2 separate regions of the Homo sapiens genome follow, and region 1 is linked to region 2. The links are contacts of gene promoters, found by promoter capture Hi-C in human tissues and cell types (Jung and others, 2019). All regions are on one chromosome and are shown on one strand. The core of a region is centred on a gene start or on the middle of the fragment in contact, and the rest is flanking DNA. Distances in the headings are between cores, read along the strand shown.

Evidence for each region. Contacts are between HindIII fragments. The study calls those that stand out against the background at their distance.
Region 1: a contact is called between a fragment that was not itself captured here and the fragment with the promoter of DYNC1LI1 in region 2, in 1 of the 25 tissues and cell types used here (liver).

What each region holds. Positions count from the first base shown.
Region 1 is chr3:32,880,513-32,883,212 of GRCh38, reverse strand. All of the region lies in intron 2 of TRIM71 (tripartite motif containing 71), which reads right to left. Among named protein-coding and RNA genes, the nearest start is that of TRIM71, 64 kb to the right of the region's middle. The HindIII fragment of the contact is 5,549 bases long and covers 1-2,700 here.
Region 2 is chr3:32,569,608-32,572,335 of GRCh38, reverse strand. It overlaps DYNC1LI1 (dynein cytoplasmic 1 light intermediate chain 1), which reads left to right and starts at 1,478. Exons shown (of 13, transcript NM_016141.4): 1 at 1,478-1,711; 2 at 1,917-1,990. The coding sequence starts at 1,566. RefSeq lists silencers at 1,281-1,540, 1,721-2,210 and an enhancer at 1,485-2,270. The HindIII fragment of the contact is 21,345 bases long and covers 1-2,728 here.

The sequences.
Region 1 (2,700 bases), core at 56-2,555, 310 kb before region 2:
CATATAAGCAGGTATCATAATAGCATTGATACATTTTTAGTATCTCACGCTGTCAGGATTCATCCAGGGAAAAAGAGAGAAAGCGAGAGAGAGCAAGAGAGCTCCCTAGACATTTAAACAGAATTTAGCATAGGGAAATGGTTAAACAGGTATGGGAGAACTGCTGGGGCAAAGAGCACACTGAGGCAGAGAGTACCTGCAGAAGCAGCTTCTTCTGCTTTGTCTGAGAGAACAAAGGAAAGAAAGCTGTGGTTACAAGAACCCAGAATAAGATGGTGAGGTTACATCCAGCTAATTCTGAGAGTGGCAAGATCTGAAATTGAAACCAACTTCTGCTGTCAGGGTGAAAAAGAATTGCTATTAAAAATTGGGGCCGGGTACGGTGGCTCACACCTGTAATCCCAGCACTCTGGGAGGCAGAGGCAGGAGGATAGCTTAAGCCCACGAGTTTGAGATCAGCCTGGCCAAGAGTGAGACCCCGTCTCTACAAAAAAATAAATTAGCCAGGCATGGTGGCGCTTGTGTATAGTCCCATCTACTTGGGAGGCTGAGCTGGAAGGATTGCTTGAGTCTTGGGAGATCGAAGCTGCAGCAAGCTGTGACTGCACCACCGCGCCCCCCAGCCTGGGTGACAGAGCAAGACTCTGTCTCAAAACAAATATATAATATGATAATAATATAAGTAATATGAATTGGAAGAAAAAGGGAAGAAGTCCTTTTCCCATACATGTAGTTTGAAGAGTCACAGCCCCAGTGTCACATGGCAAGAGTGTGACAGGGTTAGAGCCCAAAGAGTAGAACTTAGTAACCGGCACCCTCTATATTTTTAGATGTGTTGGTTATTAATTAGCACAACTGGTGTCCAAGCTAATATTTCACCAAGGCAACCAAACCTATGTCTGTAACATTTCTTAATCCTTCCTCAATAGAAAGCAGAGGTGGCAAACTGCTTTCTATTAATATTAATGTCATACTACTTGCCAAATTGATTTTTTTACATCTAACTTCTATCATATGTTAGAAGAAAAAAAAAGACCCAGCCTGGGCTACAAGAGCAAAACTCTGTCTCAAAAAATAAAAAAACAAAAACACCACTCCCTTTGCATAGGAATGGGTGTACTACCCTACTCACCTCTTCCCCTAGTCTCCTAGCCAGGCTTATCGCTTATCCCTCATGTCTGGAACTCACATTTTATGACAAAAATTGCTTCTTCCATTTTTCAAACAGGTTCAAAGGGGGATTCAAAGCTTTTGTTGCAATTTTAATAATCAGCAAGCATGCAAAGATATTCCTTGGGCTGAGAGTCACAAAAGCCCTACCCAATGCATAGTGGAAAAATAGGTCTTTCCCTTCCAAATTACGCACGACCCAGCCAAGCATGGCATTCCAAGATGTGCAGACCAGGACTTATTGAACTAGTTCCCAACCTCTAACAGCAGGGCATCTGAAGGACATACAGGGCAGATAGGTTGGGGGAAATGACAATGTAGAAAGGCTGGGTAAACTTCCAAAACAGATATATACATTTCACAGTAAGAAAAGAGAAATCACCCAACAAGCATGGTGCTTGAGAGAAAATTTAACCATCTTTGGGATGTTAACAGATCTAATTAAACATTTAAAAGTTGAGGGTCTACATTTGGACTGGCAAATCAGTGCACTTTCCAGCTGACTACTGAGTGGCAGTCAGTCAGCATGGTGGAGACTTGGGCCAAATCTGGCTCTCAAGGGAAAGAATATAGATATCGATCAGTGATGCCAACTGTGGAGAACAGTGGTATTTAAAGAGCCCAACGGTCAGAAGGTAAGAGAATGCAATCATCACCCATACACTTGTAGGCGACCATACTGGGTATGCGGAGCTACTGTGGTGCACTCTAAAATGTAATTTTTGGCCAGGCGCAGTGGCTCATGCCTGTAATCCCAACACTCTTGGGAGGCTGAGGCAGGTGGACTGCCTGAGGTCAGGAGTTGAGACTAGCCTGGCCAACATGGTGAAACCCCGTCTCTACTGAAGATACCAAAATTAGCCAGGTGTGGTGACGGGTACCTGTAATCCCAACTACTCAGGAGGCTGAGGCAGGAAAATCACTTGAACCCGGGAGGCAGAAGTTGCAGTGAGCCAAAATCGTGGCACTGAACTCCAGCCTGGGCAACAGAGTGAGACTCCACCTCAAAAAAATATATATATATACATATATAAAATTTTCATCACATCTTTCTCTGAATCTATAATTCATCTCTAAATTGTCCGTGGGTTTCTTCCTTTGTTAGTTGTATGTAAAATAAATGTACACCTTACAATTAATGGCATCTTAAATGTGATGAAATATAGTAATTGAAGAATCAAAACTTTCTTATGTAGAAACCAACTATTCCTGATCCTGTTTATCGCTATCCCCAGCAAATCAGTTTACCTTGTGGAATCCTCTAATAACATACATGACCAAAATGTCATATATTCAAGAAAAGCAGCAAAGTGAAAGTAACAGAATGTTCAAAAAAGCAATAAAAATGAGTGGTTGCCCCCTAAATGCCCTACAACAGTGATGAGGTGCTACATCTTCCATGCTGTTCTTGTTATGGCCAACTCTAGACACTCACCAGGGTAGATTCTCTTTATAGGACAATCCAGAATTAACTCAAGGATTTGTATCTGGAGCTCTTTCCAGAACCAAGACTCTCAGGACAAGTTGTGA
Region 2 (2,728 bases), core at 229-2,728:
TTTGTAGAGCCGGGGTTTCGCCATGTTGCCCAGGCTGGTCAAGAACTCCTGGGCTTAAGCAATCTGCCTGCCTTGGCCTCCCAAAGCGCTGGCATTACAGGTGACAAAGAATTTTAGCTCCAAGAGTTCTTTAGGCCCATCACTTCTAGAGGTTGGTCAGATATTAATGGTGTGAAAGGTAAAGAAAGTCATTGATAACAATTAACATGTGGTAAGCGCTTAAGATTTGCCAGTCGTTATTCTAAGCCATTTTACATGAATCATCCCGTTTAATCTCAATAACAACTCTAAGTTCTTTTATCCTCATTTGACAGATAAGGAAACTGAGACTCACGGAGGTTAAGTAAATTGCCTAAGGTTACACAGCCAGTAAACTCGAAGAGCTAGACCTGAACTCAGATTTGCCAGCCTCCAAAGGCTTCCAGACTTCTAACCGTAATGCTAATATATAGCAAATAGTCTTTAGTTGTGGATTTTCTCACTAGCATAACAGCATTGATCAGGCCATATTCTAGCAAGTGATTTTCAAATATGAAGTGACAGAGATAACATACAAAGGCCAGGCAATTTTAAGCAAATGCTCTTACAGGTGTACTAGGACAGAGCCTTAAAACCAATGACTCCTTCTAAACATGGAGTTCAGACATTCAAATACCTTTACCTAGTAAAGTTCTAATAGAAAAGGAGTTATTTTAGGGCTAGTATAAGTCCATCCATGTATTCCCAGTGTCAACTGTGCTCGACGTAGTAAGTGTGGAATCAATGTCTAGTGACCGGTTAGATGACCCGCATAGTGGATCTTTTCAAATCTCACATGGAGGATCTCATACAAAAACATTAAGAACATTAAAGCAAGCCCTGACAATAATTTTTAAAAAATAACAGTCTATTTCCAGGGTAAACAATTACTTTGTCACGCCGCTGCTTAGGGGCTCGGAGAACCTGCTTCTGATGTGGGTCCAGGTTGAGGAACACTTCGCCACTTGAGAACGCAAATAAAGTCCAGAAATCCAGGACCACAGCAATACTCCAGCCCAGGGTTGCAGGGCAGCCTCTTTACCAGCCGGGCGACCCATTTCTATCTTGGCGCCGGCGAAGCGCCGGTTTGGGCGGGGGACCGCTCTCAGCCTGAACAGTGGGTGGGCCGGCAATGACAATGCAGGAATTCCGCGCAGGCCGCAGGGTTTGGGGACCTGTCTGAAGGGTGGGAGGGAGCACTTTTCACCTGACACACCCAACCCCCCTGCCGCAGCCCAGGGCCGCGGATGAGCGGAAGGAAAGCACTTCCATACTGTCAGATCACTGGGCTTCAGTTGCAGCATAGCGGCCCACCCCGCCGCCCGCGTACGCTCAGCCCCTCAGCGCCGGCCAGGCAGCCACGCACGCGCAGTCCGTTCTCGCTCGCTCCATCAGTCCTGGCCCGGCCCGGGGCCCCGCCCCCGCAGGCCCCGCCCCGCTCCCGTGCGCTGAACGCCCCATATCCGGGTTCCCGCCGCCTCCACCGCCACCGCCTCAGCCGCCTCGCACATTTAGTCTTGCCGGGAGTGGTGTGATTCCCGACCAAGATGGCGGCCGTGGGGCGAGTCGGCTCCTTCGGTTCTTCTCCGCCGGGATTATCCTCGACTTACACTGGCGGCCCCTTGGGCAACGAGATAGCGTCGGGCAACGGTGGCGCCGCGGCAGGCGACGACGAGGACGGGCAGAACCTTTGGTAACGACTCCACCTCTCCCTCAGCCCCCGCTGGCTCCCCCGGCCTTGCGCGGACGCCTCGGGATCCCGTGCCCGCTGGAGCTCGGCGCCGGGCCCGGCCACTGCGTTCCCGGCAGCCCCATCCCCGGCGCGCCGAGGCCGGGTCCGTCCCTCCCGCGCTGCGGCTCCGGCCTCCGGCCTCACCGTACGCCTTGCTTCCCGTTAGGTCCTGCATCCTCAGCGAGGTCTCCACCCGCTCGCGCTCCAAGCTCCCTGCGGGGAAGAACGTGCTACTGCTGGGTAAGTGTTCCCTGCCTCGCCCCGCCCCGCCCGGCCCCCAGCGGCCCGGGGTACCTGGTCCGCGGGCTAGCTCGCTGGCTCTCTTTGTGCGGACAGCCGGCCCAGCCCCGCCCCGCCTCGCCTCCCGACCTGTCGCGGATGGCTGGGAGAGAAGGGGAACACGAGACCCTTGACCCAGGACCTGCGGGGACCCGCCCTCCCTCAGGTTCCTCCTCCTCCTCCCCGGTATATGGGGGTGGCCCTGACAGCTTCCCCTGGGAAGGACAGAATTCGATCGCTCATCTGAGGGATTCTCGTGGCCTGGGGTTTATCTAGAAAATGACAGGTTTTCTTTCATCACAAAAATTGGTAGCAGGAGGCTCTTTGCGAGAGCTGCAGCGCAAATGGCATGCCATTAATATTTAATAGCTGACTCTTTGTATAATTGACAGAAGCTAGAACTAAGACCTGGCGATAAATGTTCTTGATTCAGCGTTCTCTGGTACAATGTGCTCGTGTTGCAGCTACCTTAACTGTCACATATAATTCTGAAATTTGTAAAGGGCAGTAGAACACAACTTTCTAGTTAAGTCTTTTCAGCCAAATGGATGTAATAAGGAGAAACGGTCCAGTGTCAGTTCTCCTGATTGTTCTGTATCTCCTCGGCTCTCTGGAAGTTGTGTATTCTGTTTCTTTAGTGACTCTGGGGGTGGGGATAGAGGACTGAGGGAGAATAGTTCGCAGATTCGCATTTTTCTA